Linked DNA regions of Homo sapiens: region 2 is linked to region 1. Evidence: promoter capture Hi-C in human tissues and cell types (Jung and others, 2019). All regions are on one chromosome and are shown on one strand. The core of a region is centred on a gene start or on the middle of the fragment in contact, and the rest is flanking DNA. Distances in the headings are between cores, read along the strand shown.

Region 1 (6,791 bases), core at 4,180-6,679:
TTTTTCTCATCTTTCATATCTACTTTCAAGTTATGCTAACTTGCTATGTGTTATGGGTACATAACAGTAAGTGGACATAAATCTTTTCCGGAATAAAGGAATAACTAATCGAATAAACAAAATGATAGAGGAGTATAAGGTTCAACAGAGAAAAGTAGCCTCTAAATGGTGGAAGGGTGTACCAAACGGTACTCCTTAATTTGTAAGTCACTTAAACCCCAAACTGGCTTAAATGACAACAAAATATTAAATTAACTGAAAAGTTTAGTGGTAGTTCATTTTCAGGTAGAGTTTGATCCAGGAGCTCAAATCATGCCATCAGATCCTGTTCTCTCACCATCTCTCCCTTCTATCCTCCTTCATGCTTGCTCAATGCTCAGGCTTCCTGTGGTGACAAAATAGTTTCTGGAATCTAGACCTTTGCATTCCAAGATGTATGTTTAAAAGACAGAAGAACAAGAGAATATCTCCTGTCTATGAATAAAAAATCCATAAGGATAGATAGAGACTTTGGATATTTGGTTTACTGTTGAATTCCCAGCAAGGCAGTGGCTGGTATATAAGTGATCAATAAATACTTGTTGAAGTTGTTGTTATGGCATCACTAAAAGCTCATGCACAAATCCCAATACTTGACCTGGGTCACATGCCCATCCCTGAACTAATCTTTTGGTCAGGGGATCCAGTGCTCTAATTTTCCAGGTCTGGGTCACCTGATCCTAACACCAAAACCAGGGATGAGTCTCCAACTAATCCATGTGCACTGACAGTGGGAGATGATGGTTCCTCAAGGGAAATTGGGGGCATTACAAAGAAGGAGAAACAAGCTTGGCAGACAAAACAATAAATAATGCACATCAATGGACTACCAAGAAGGTGATGTTTGAGTCGAATGGTAAAGGATAAGCAGGAGTTAGCTAATAAAGAGGGCAATTTTCAGTGGGTAACATTCTAGGTATTTTCAAAGCACAGAGTCATAAAACAGCCTGATGCTTTTGAAGAACTGTAAATAGCTTAATATGGTTAGAGCAAACAAGGGTGGAGAGTAGTAAAAAAAAAATAAGCCAGAGAGATAGGCATAGTGCAAATATAAAAGACCTTTAGAACTAATCCAAGGAGTGTGCACTCTATCCTGAAAGCCCTGAAGAGCATAAGTAGGATTTGCAGCCCGGGAGCACGCCTGACAGCCAGGCCCTTGCAGATCATTATAGGGTCAACACTGATTCACCCTGCAAACACTGGTTGGGGCTGGGTCTGCAAGTCAAAGAAAGGAGTCCCAGATGTGGATGAACAAGAGACACAGGGAGCAGACGCCAAGCAAATCCTAGGAATCAAACAGACCTGGGAATCAAACAAAGACTGCCAACACTGTCTGATTGTTGCTTAATTCTCAAGCTTGTGGCCCACACTGTCACGAATTCTTCATCTAAATATGAAAATCCTCTTTAGTGAGCCACGACACATTCAGAGCATGACATGGTTGGGTATTGTACTAGTTTGCTGGGGCTACCATAATAAAGTACCACAAACTGGGTGGCTGAAACAACTGAAATTTATTGTCTTACAGTTGTGCAGGTGGAAAGTCTGAGATCAAGGTGTGGGCAGGGTTGGTTCCTTCTGAGAGCTGTGAGGAAGAATCTGTTCCGTGCCTCTCTCCTGGCTTCTGGTAATTTGCTGGCAATCAATGATGTTCCTTGGCTTGCAGAAGCATCACCCTGATCTCCGCCTTCACCTCTATGTGGTATTCTCCCTGTGTGCATGTCTGTCTCCAAATTCTGCTCCCCACCTCTTTTTGAGACACGGTCTCGCTGTATTGCCCAGGCTAGAGTGCAGGGACACCATAATGGCTCACCACAGCCTCGATGTCCTGGGCTCAAGTGATTGTCCTGCCTCAGCCTTCCAGTAGCTGGGAACATAGGTGCATGCCCATGCCACCACACCTGGCGATTTCTTTCTTTTTTTTCCTTTTTTTTTTTTTTGGAGAGACAAGATCTCCCTGTGTTGCCTGTTGCCCAGGCTCATCTCAAACTCCTGGGCTTAAGTGACTCTCCCACCTCAGCCTCCCAAAGTGCTGGGAGTATAGGCATGAGTCACTATGCCTGCCCAAGTTTCCCCTTTTTATAAGGATAAAAATCATATTGGATTAGGACTGAACTTAGTGACCTCATGTTAACTTGATTAACTCTGCAAAGACCTTATCTCCAAATAAGGTTGCATTCTGAGGTACTGCAGTTAAGGACTTCAACATGAAGTTTTGGAGGACACAATTCAACACACAAAAATGTTATTTTTAAAAAGAAGTTGCAGCCAGGCTCAGTGGCTCATGCCTGTAATCCTAGCACTTTGGGAGGCCAAGGCAGGTGGATCACTTGAGGTCAGGAGTTCAAGACCAGCCTGGCCAACATGGCGAAACCCCGTCTGTACTAAAAATACAAAAATTAGCTGGGTGTGATGGCATGCACCTGTAGTCCCAGCTACTCGGGCAGCTGAGGCAGGAGAATTGCATGAACCCTGGGGTCAGAGTTTGCAGTGAGCCAAGATCGTGCCATTTCACGCCAGCCTGGGCGAAGAGCAAGACTCCATCTCAAATAAATAAATAAAATAAAAAGAAGTTACTTAGCCACGTACGGTAGTGCATGCCTGTAGTCTCAGCTACTCGGGAGGCTGTGGCGGGAGGATCACTTGAGCCCAGGAGTTTGAGGCTGAAGTGAGCTGTGATCACCACTGCACTCCAGACTGGGTGACAGATCAAGGGTGTCTCAAAAAAGAAAAGTAGACATTCTCTAAGTGAATTGATTTCTTACAAAAGGTATGACATCATGTTGCTTTGTAAAGACAAAGAAAATAACACCATTAATAAAACAGACTCAGAAAAAAGAAAAAGAGACCCAGGAGCAATTCAAGAGTTCACAATGAAGAATGCTTTTTCAGATTAAATAAAAAACAGTTCTTTTCTACTTGTGGGATTTTGCATGGAGGCTGCTATAGAGAAGGGTGCTTGTGAGAAGATGCCTTATAAAATGAAATACAAACGTTCCAGTGATTTCTGCAGCATTCAATCTTCCCAACAGTTCCCTGAGCTGAATATTATTACCCTCACTTACCAATGAGAAACTAAGCCTGAGAGAGGTTAACTACATTACCCCAGGCTACATTTGGTAAGCGGTGGGGCTGAAATTTGAAATCAGACTGTTGTGACCTCAGACCATCACATGCACTGGCCGGAGTAATTTTATGAGTCCTGGTTGAAGGCCAAGTATTCACCTTTGCAATGGATCCAAAAGATGCTGCCCAGCACACAGTCCAAAGAGGCAGTAATCCTCCAGAGGGAATGACCATGTATCATCCACAGTGCTCAGGGTGTCTGCTCCACATAATAGATGCTCAACAAACAAAACCTTTGTGAAGTCACTGTACAGCAATAAGATTTATTTCACCTATGGAGGTAGTGAAATTTTCTTTGGCAGTTCTGGAGGTTAGATAGAACCTAAAAGTTGATAGCTTAATAGAAGCATTTGTAACCCCAGCAAGATAAACAGACACAACTTCAAAGGCCAATTCCAATAAAATGCTGAGGGGCAAGAAAACCTGGTTTGTTCTTTCCCAGATTCTCGTCACCTGAGGTCAGGAGTTCGAGACCAGCCTGGCCAACATGGGGAAACTGTCTCTACTAAAAATACAAAAATTACCTGGGCGCGGTGGCAGGTGCCTGTAATCCCAGCTACTCGGGAGGTTGAGGAAGGAGAATCGCTTCAACACGGGGGCGGGGCGGAGGTTGCAGTGAGCGGAGATCGCGCCACTGCACTCCAGCCTGTGTGACAAGAGCGAAACTCCGTCTCAAAAAAAAAAAAAAAAAAAAAAAAAAAAAAAAACAACGCTAGCAAGTGGAATTATTTCAAAAGCAACAGCCTTGTTTCCTGAGTGATCTGAGCTCAGGAACTCTGCCTGGGCATCTAGACAGGAGAAAGTATCTACAGCGTGGGGAGATCTGAGTCAGAATTATAGAGCACAGTGCTGAAGCCATACATTTTCCTGGATTTAGACAGTTTCCTCCTCCATTTGCCTTTATTTCCTTGCATTCTCTTTTCATCGGCTCCATTTTTGCTGAGTATTCCTTTGCTTTATTCCCAACGAAAATCGAAAAGACTTGATGTTCTGAGAAATTCTGAGACTGGCAGTTTTGATTTTTCTTAAAAGGATAAAAATTGCATCAGTCAACACCTCCCTCCACACTCCCCCCACACACATCCTCATCTTCCTGGAAGATGATACAGTATCCTAGAGCGTTGTGGAGAGGATGGAGAGGTCAAGGAAGCCCTGGCTTTGCAGAGGCACCTGTCAAGTTCGGGTTAACAGCTGCCGCCTGTGTCTGCCCTCTGCAGTCCAGGGAAATAGTACCCACACGGTGAGACTCCACCGATCCGGAACTGGAGAGGGTGGGGGGTTCTAAGGTTTAGTGTGACACAAATGTCAGGGCAGAACTTTCAAACAGGCTGAGCCCCAGTTCAACGTGGGTGAGTGCGCCTGAGAGCCCAGCTCTGGGAATTGAGCAGACTGAAAATGTGGAGAGTAGTTTGGCCAGTGAAAAATTGTCACCGTGTTCGGATCAATGCTTTGAACCCGCTTTTAAGTGCGCCACGTTCACTTGGGTCAGGCTCTGGACATTGCGGTGGGCTGAGGTTTTCGCGGGCACGATCCCCCACACTGAGTTTTCATGGAGACGACCAGGGCCGTCGAGGCGGGGAAGGGAACGGACTAGAGGCTGAACTTTGGCTTCTTGCTCTGAAAGATCACTCCTCCGGTTCCGGGGCAGAGACTCAGACCAGCCTGTGGGATTACACGAGACAGGATCGAGTCCAAACGGGTCCCCAGCTCGGCAAGGCGCGCCGGAAGGAATCTAAGTGTTTAATTAACTGCCCCCTTCACACACCCCCCGAAGGAGAAGGAACTCAAATAGGCACCCCTACCCAAATCGTTTGATCAGAGGAAATTGGGTTTGTCTCTCCCCCACCCCCCACCCCGTCCCTTCACTCTTCCTGTGTTTCAGTCCATCGGGATTGTTGGTTAAAAAAAAAAAAAAAAAAAGGCTTATAATCGGGGGCGGGGCAGAGGCTCCGAGCGAGCCGCACTTGCGACTCTGGACCGCGGTTGGTGAACTTTTTTCTCCCTGCGCATAATCCGCCTGCTGCTCTGCCCCACTGGCTGCGCGTGGAGCCGGTCCCAGGCCTGCTCGCAGCCCTGCCCCCGGGCGCGGCCCGAGCCGGGCCCGACCTCGCTTTCAGGGCCGAGCCGGGGTACGCGTGGGCGCGCGCCCAGCGGCCTCGATCCCGCGGCGGCGTCCGCGCTCCGCGTTTTCGCTCGCGCCGGGCCCCGCGGCCGAGGGCGGGGTGCGCGGCGGCGCCGCAGCGCGCGGCTCCGGAGCCCGAGCGCACTCCGCCTGCAGCCCAGCTGCCAGCGCCGTCTCCCGCGGCCGCCGCCGCCCGACAGCGCGCCCGGAACATGCCAGCCTCGCGCAGCCTGCGCTGACTTCCCCGAGACGCGCCGCGGTCGGCACGGAGACTTTCTGGGCTCTGGATGGTTCGTGCGCTGCTCACCCTCGCCCACCCCTGACGCCGCGGACCGCAGCTCCTCAGCCCCGCAGCCCCGCAGCCCAGCAGCCCCGCAGCGGCGCCGAGGACAGTGCAGCCGAGTTGCGTCTCCCTCGCGCGAGGTGAGTGGCAGCCTGGATCCCGGCGGATTCCGCAGAGGGGGCTGCGGCGCGGTGGTGGGGGGCGAGCGCCGCAGGGGTAGGGCCGGGCACCTTCGCTGGCACCGCCGGAGTCTGTGACACCCAGACTGGGTCGGTGTCGCAGAAGATCAGGGAGAAGGTCATAATCGGTTTGTTGGGCTGTGTAGACAGGGAAAGCAGATATTGGCTGCAGCATCGCCAGGGCTCCGCAGAGGCTCTCCGCATGGCTCCTGTTTGCTGCATCACAACCAACTCTTCCCTTGGTTTTCTCCGGCGTGGAAACAGGTTCTGTAGCCCGAGGGTCGAGGCGATGCGGGGCGCCGGGAGGCGAGGGTGCGTTGGCGTGTTCCCGCCGCTTAGGATCGCCTGTCACCTACTGGCGTCCGGAGGGAGGGTACCGATTCTCTCCTCTAGCGCTGGGGAAAGGGGCTGGTGGCTTTTTGGCAGAGGCGAATCAACTCCCACCACTCTCCCCAACCCCCTGCCCCGCGATGGTGTTTGCTGAATGTAGCACAGATATAGGGAAAAAATGGGAGCGTCTTCCTCTCTTGAGGTAGAAAAAGTTGAAGAAACTAGGCATGTTAATAGTTATTAGGAGCGGGACTCAGGATGCAGCAGAAAGCTGTTAAATTTTCATTACCCTCTAAGAAAAACAAACGGCATCGCCAGTGACTATTGGCAGTGCTGTGTTATTCTTGGGACTTTGGGAAAATTGTTCACAGATTGTCTTCAGGAGGCTGAAGAACGAGGTTGGGGGTTGGGAGAGAGGGAGGACGGCTGCATCACGCTTAGTTCCAGCTTGCCTAAGGAGGGTTCAGGATCACAAGCCGAACGCGTTTGGTTGCTGATTTTTAAAAGGGTATCAGCGGCAGAACTGAGACCATGAACAAGGCAAACACACCACGGGAACCAGCCTAAAGGAAAAAAAAAAAGCACCAACAACTACAACCAAAAAAACATGTAAAAATCTGCCTCTCCTGCAGAGTTAACATGCATTTGTGCTATCAAATGGATGCATGTATATGTGTCTTTTAGGATAAGTTTTATGAATGACAAATCACTG
Region 2 (6,951 bases), core at 626-3,125, 380 kb before region 1:
AAAAGTAAAGGGATTAGTCATTTTTTTTCTTAAAATTCTTATGGATTGTCATAAAACATACTGATATAGCCTAACAATCCCTGTTCTGTAAAGCCCAAAAACATGAGAAAGTAAGAACTTGATATCAAACTTCAATTCCAATGTCACTTCCTCCAGGAAAATTTTCTGACCCCTCTCACTCTCTAAATCTAATACCTGCTGTTTAAAATTATAAATGTTGGCATTTATAAAACTCTTACTATAAGCCAGACACAGTGTTAATGCTTTATATGCAAAGCCATGTTTCCATTCATTTATTTCCTATTAAATCTAAATATTTAAAGTATATCCTCCTTGCCAAGCTTTGTGGTGAAATGAGTTTACGGTGATGAAAAAGATATGATCCTCACCCTCTTGAGCTACAGTCTAGGGAGGAAGATAAATATTGTATATACACAGAAGAAGATAGAATTAAAATTATTACAAGTACTGTGTAAGAAAACAACAGGCAGGTAGGAAAGAAAACAGAAACGTGAATAGAACTGATATACACTTTGAGATCAGGAGAAAGATGCTTGAGCTGTGACCTGTGAAAAGATATTTAGGCTGAAATCTCAGAGATGAGTCACCATTAGTTGGTGGGAGTTGGGGTATTAGAGCATTTCAGAAAAGGAGTCAGCATGTTCTAAGGCCCAAAGTAGGGAAGACTTGGTATATTACAGGACATAGAGAAAGTGTGGCTGGTGTGTAACAAGTAAAGGAGAGGGTGAGAAAGATGAGATTGATGAGAGGGGCAGAGACTGGAATCTAGCATGATTGCAAGGAGTTTTTATTTTATTCTAAGTGATTTCATAATAAGTATATCTCATAAAATCAAAACACCTTTTGAGATGAATACTACTGTTGTCTTCACTTTACAGATAAGGAGACTGAGAGACAACGTAATTTGCCTAACATCACACAGCTAGTGAGGGGTATAGGTAGTATTAGAAACCAGACTTCAAATACCCATGTTTGAGCTCTTAAAAAAATTACGCTGAACCACCTCTATATGGCAAGAGGATCTTATGCAAATCACCATTATAACATGTACCGTCATTGTATTTCAGTACTTATATCACATAATAGCACTATGTTTTAACTGATTACTTATCTTTATCTTTCATGTAAAAGCACTATGTTTTAAATGATTATTTATCCTTATCTTCCTGCGGACTGAAAGCTCCCTAAAAGCAGGAACCAGATCTTATTTGACACACTGCCTTGAACATAGCAGGGCCATACTCTCATTGCATGAATGAACACTCAAGTATGTAAAGTAGGACAGACATTGAGCTAATCAAATCTATGTCTCTAAGGCTTATCCTTTAAAAAAATGTTTAGGGGAACAAAGAAGATAAAGTCAGGAAAGGCTTTTTAGACAATCTGTTATGAATATCTGTAAAATATTAAATATAATTTAACCTGTTCTTTGTTTTCTTCATGGAGGTCATGGAGAATGATTTTCTTATTCTCATGAATAGATTTTTAAAAAGTGATATGGTTTCAGGGCACTTTAACAAGAAACCAACACATTTTAAAGTGATTTTTTGTGTTTTTCTTTCAAGGTACTGTTTCACCCCATGGAAGGAGTCTGACCATAATGGTCGCAACCAATGCTAGAAAATAAAAACTCAAATTGTACTTTATAAAGCTAGTTTTTTCTAGCACTATTAATAGCGATTAAGTAAACATATTATAACCATATTGCCATTTACTGGAGCCATACTAAATGCTCTCTAGATAATTCTGCATTCATTTATTTTATTAATAAATTTAATTAAATTTTTATTGAGTGATTATTATGTGCCAGGCACTCTTAGTCTCAATCATAGCTAACAAGGAGTCGATACACTCTGAAAATTTCATGCTGTTCTTGAACAAAGGATTTTATTAAGCCGCAGGAATTAACCAATATGATATTCATTCATCAAGTCATGATGACCTGTGACAAAATGGGCTCAGAGTATCCCAGAATGGAAAAATTCCAGAAAGATTCTGCCACAAGTAACTTTCTGTGTTCCTCAGCCAATGTCTCAGGAGATTCTCTTCCAGGACTTCAAACTTGGCTCTGTGCTGCTTTCTTCCTTTCCTCCCCGGTGGCCCTGAGTAGGGGGTGTTGAAAAAAGCCTAAGCTCAGAGAGGCAGTGAGGGCAGAAAATTTATTTTATTACATGTCATGAAATGTAAATATGTATATTCATTACTCCAGTTAACTTGGAGCAACTTATTACAAGGTATTATATTTTCCTTCTATTTCTCACCTCATTCCTGACCCCAGAATGAAATGGAGAACTGGAGATTTATTCTCTCATTCTCTCTCTCTCTCTCACACACACACACACGCACACACACACACACGCACGCACACACACACACGCGCGCGCGCACACACACACACACACACTCCTTCTATCAGTGAGGAGGCCAGGCCACCTCTTCGCAGTTTCTCCCTGTGTTGACCTCAAGGTTAAGTCTCACTACCCCTCAAACAGCTTCCTAACTTCTTGAGCTGGAGTACCTTTCAGACTCTCCAGAACTCCTCCTTCTATATATGGCTCCCTTTCCTAGATAATTTCTCTCTACCAAGGCATGTCCTTACACACCTATTCCTTTGATTTCCTGTGATCACATTTCTAGCTGATTTGCCTCTGCTCTGCTGTTGTATTCCTTTCTGAATCCTGCTTTGGTGACTCAAACACACAACAAACTATTTTGTTGTTTGACAATTTTTTTTTCTGAGGCCTTGCCCTAAATCCCAGCTACCAATTCTGAGATGATGTAGCAATCATATTTACATGCCTGACCTCTACATATACTAAGACCCCACATCTACATGTAATAAATAGCCATGGTTTCTTTATAATAAAATATACATACACAGTCTGTATATACAGTAACCTCCTCAATAGATTGGAGAGAGTTGTAAGTCTTCATCTGGACTTGAAAAACACATGACAGAAACTGCCAATTACCTGCTCATTTCATATACTTGGGGTTAGAATATGCCCAAATAAAAATTACCTTTCCCAGCCTTTCCTATAGAGGGAATATTGCCAATATGAAAACAGGAGCACTTACATGTCTTTGGGCAGCACTTCCAGAAGAACATGTTTTGCCCTCCTGTTCCTTCCCATCTCCCTTCCTGCTATTTAAGCACCTGAAGCACAGATGGTGTGACTGAGCAGCCATCCTGTGACCTTGAGAGTGTCAGTCTTCTAAGATTTTGGCAGGGCAGAAGGACAGGAAGAGTGTGAGTCCCTGGAGCTTCATGAGGCAACCACAAGGGCCCTGGACTGCCTACCACAGGACTACATTTATTTAAGCCAATGTAGTCAAAGCTTAAATGAAATTCCCTGTGTGTGCGTGTGTGTGTGTGTGTGTGTGTGTGTGCGTGTGTGTGATTCCTAATTGATACATGTATGGGTATGTGTCTCTTTGCATGCAAACAAACATATTTATTGTTATATGGCCTGAGCACTTTATGTACTTTTTAAGGATTACATGAAAAAAATAATCATAAAATACTTGGCACAGAATATGACACAGAGCAAGGAATCTATAAACATTAACTACTATTTCCTTTAATCTTCTCAACACCCGCAGGAAGCATGTAGTATCATTCTCATGTTACAGGGGAGGAAATGGAGTCTTAAAGGGGGTAAGTACTAAGACTTGATTCATGCAATTAGCAAGCAGCAGAGTCAGGATTTGAACCCAAGTCTACCTAATTCTAGAACTCCAAGTCCTAAAGGCAAGGTACACTGCCTCATTCAGCAAGGCACGGAATCTCAGTGAAGAGAGGCCAAGCAGCCATCCTGTGTGCCGAGGAGGGGGTTTCTGTAACAAGGAGTCAGAGGAGAGAACATGAGTTGAGCCTGAAGGTCCCCATGGCGAAGTCTCAGGTCTGCCACTTGCTGGCTTTGTCATCTTGGACAAGTCATCTCTGCTCCCTAGGCCACATTTCTTTCAACTTTACAGTGAAGAGATTGACTTGATTCTCTCTATGGTTCTTTCCAAATCTAGAATGTCATCAATTAATGATTCTCTATAGTCAGTTTATTGAAATAGTACTGTAAAACAAAACCTGATTTTGAGGTCTGAATAATATATTTTGGTCTCTGTGAAGTCCTTTTTTCTAGATACTTTTTGATTCCCCTTTTGTCTTCTGATAACGTAGACATTTTATCAGTCTCCCATAAGCTTTTAGAAAGAATTGCCTGTATTCATGTATAGTAGGAATAAACAATGTGGGGACCAAAGGAAATGAGCAGAGAGGCAAGAGGTAGAAAGGGCTTCACGTTTAGGAGATGGGGTAAAAACAGAGAAGCAGCATATTGCCATAGAGGTACACAGTGTTGCTGTGTTTTGAGTTCTGCCTTAGTGTCTTCTTGGTTACTTTTGTACTCTTGCAGGCAGTTGCCAAAAGATGAGCCGTCAACTGCAGTAGGGCAGATAGAATTTTGAATTAGAGAGGCCTGGGTCTCAATTTTAACCCTCCCATTGCTAGCTTAGTGACCTTAGACTTTACCCATCCATTTGCTGTGTCACTATAAATAAGTTATTCGACTTCAGTTGCTCATTTACAACCTGAGGTTAGCAACAGTCTTCACTTCTAACGATTGTTGTCTAGTGTATATAGAAGCTTAGAACAGTGCCAGTATGTAGAAGCTTAGAACAGTAGACTCTACACAAAAGTTAAGTTGTATGAGCATAAGTCCTATTTGGGCGTTGAGCAAATCTACAAATTCAAAGTTTAAAGAGTATATGATTGCTGTCATATTTTATGTGGCCAGAGGAGTCTTTGCTAGCATTTCACAAATGCCCCTTGCTAAATTAGCTAAAACTTCTGAGACAGGCATCACAGGCTTCAAGATTTGTAGAGTCTAGTCTGGTAGCAGTTTTGTGGTTTTCTTTTTAATGATTATTTTAGTAGTAGCTTGTTGTTTGCTTAGTTCTGAAAAGCAAACTCCACTCAAAGACTCACTGTTATACCGTTCAAATTTATTTTAACATAATTTGTAGAAAGACATGAGTTGGGAATTTGTCAAAGAAACTTGCAGAGTCTAGGCAGGGGCACTTCACTTGGAAAGTGTTAGCCAAGATCCAGATAAGCCAGATGGCCTCAAGTTCAAATTATAACATTTTCTTCTCTTCTGTAGCTTTGAAATATCTAAATATTTGGATTAAATACATCAGGATTACTATAAGCACGAAATACTGATCCATCGTGCTTAACAGTGAGAATTGTTGCCATCCCTATATGTTTCATATCACATAATTTAAATGTAATGAAAGGTAAATTTTTAGAAACTGAACCTTTTAGAAAGAAATCTACAGGGTGCTTTCACCTAGGCTATTTCTTTTGATGGGCTACTGGGCAGCTGTTAGTTTCAAATAAACTCAATACTAGATTTGCAACAGATGTTCCTAAAACGGAACAAATAAGAGAATTACTGAATTTCTTACAAAGACAGATTAAACCTGAAAAAATAATTGAGATCTAGCAAGGCAGTCATTAACATGAGGAATGAAATTAAGCATGTTACAAAGAATAATTCAAATGTTTCTCAACTAAGAGGCAAGAGGAAGAGCTCTTTAGTCAGTTTTGTTTTTCTTTATTCATCCGTTCAACAGACACTTATTACTGAGTTTCATTTGGTGCTATTCCAATTTGTTGCCGTCTTCTTAAATTATACACATGGGAATGTTAAAACTACAGCTTGTCTGCACTAATGCATTTTATTAAGTAAAATTTCACCATGCCATGGAATCATCATTGCAGAAGTTCATGGACTCACAGCCACAATTTCTTTAAGGTTTTCTCATTTCCATATAGCAGATTCTTTTTTTTTGTATAATGTTTCAACATTACTTTAATAGCAAAATCTCAAAATAGTGAAATAGCAAAATTCACTAATAGCAATTTATGAATAGCAATTCACTAAGCAAAATTCACAAAATAGTGAAATAGCAAAATCTCAAAATAATAGACACTAGGTATCTGAGAGTAGAAGAAACTGAGATTTCTCTTTTACTTTATCCAACTGTATTTAAATTTCTCATTTACTTGTCTATAACCTCCAGCAGATTGTAAACCTCCATAGCCCAGTGACCTTCTTTGCTCTTTCAATATTGTCATCTCAGTTCTTAACATAACAGCTGGCATTGAGGGAACACTTAAAAGAAGAAGAAATATTTGCTGAAAATTATAGAGGAACACAGGCAGGTATAAAGGCAGACAATAACTCATTTTCTTCTCTGCTCATTTGCCGGGTGATAGACACCAGTTGTATACAAATGATGGAAAGGGCTCTAAGGGTTATAGTTTAATTAATTTAATTTAGTTAACTCTGTATCTAGTGTAGTTCTCAATTTTTTTGTCCTAAATGCAAAGAAGACACACCTATTCTTACCTACCACTTGCCTCTAAAACAAAAACCTAAACTATTAACTCACTAAATAAACATATAAAAAAGGCCCAGATGTAACTAATCACCTATTGCTAATGTAAAACAAAACTGAAATTTGTCTTCTTTTTATCATTTCTGGGCCAAATGGTTTCAATATGTAAAATGCATAAAACAATGCCTGGCAGATAGTAAGCACTGATATGTATTTGTTATCATTACCAATCTCATCATCATTACTTCTGTATCTTAACTGACCCTTCTGGCTGTTTAGATAAAACCCCAATTCTATCTGGAGCCCTAACAACAGTACACCAACCCACGTTCCACCATGAAACTCTCTTCCACGAGGCAAGGTTTATCAGATAAGACTGCATGGATAAAAAGCCAAAAAAAAAAAAAAAGTCTGACTTTCTATTACTCTTTCAGGAGAGGACCAGGTCACATCTCTTATTGCCACAAGAACCACTAAAATATCCTGGCTACTGGAAGTTGCTTTAGGGAGTGAAATGGGGGCTGAGAG

What was found. The method cuts DNA at HindIII sites, captures the fragments that hold promoters and counts their contacts. A contact is called where the count stands out against the background at its distance.
Region 2: a contact is called between a fragment that was not itself captured here and the fragment with the promoter of PRICKLE1 in region 1, in 3 of the 25 tissues and cell types used here (dorsolateral prefrontal cortex, mesenchymal stem cells and mesendoderm cells).

Annotation. Positions count from the first base shown.
Region 1 is chr12:42,588,384-42,595,174 of GRCh38, reverse strand. It overlaps PRICKLE1 (prickle planar cell polarity protein 1), which reads left to right and starts at 5,429. Exons shown (of 8, transcript NM_153026.3): 1 at 5,429-5,710. RefSeq lists an enhancer at 4,149-4,706 and a silencer at 5,176-5,425. The HindIII fragment of the contact is 9,160 bases long and covers 1,112-6,791 here.
Region 2 is chr12:42,962,294-42,969,244 of GRCh38, reverse strand. No RefSeq gene overlaps it. Among named protein-coding and RNA genes, the nearest start is that of LINC02461, 190 kb to the left of the region's middle. The HindIII fragment of the contact is 5,134 bases long and covers 1-4,442 here.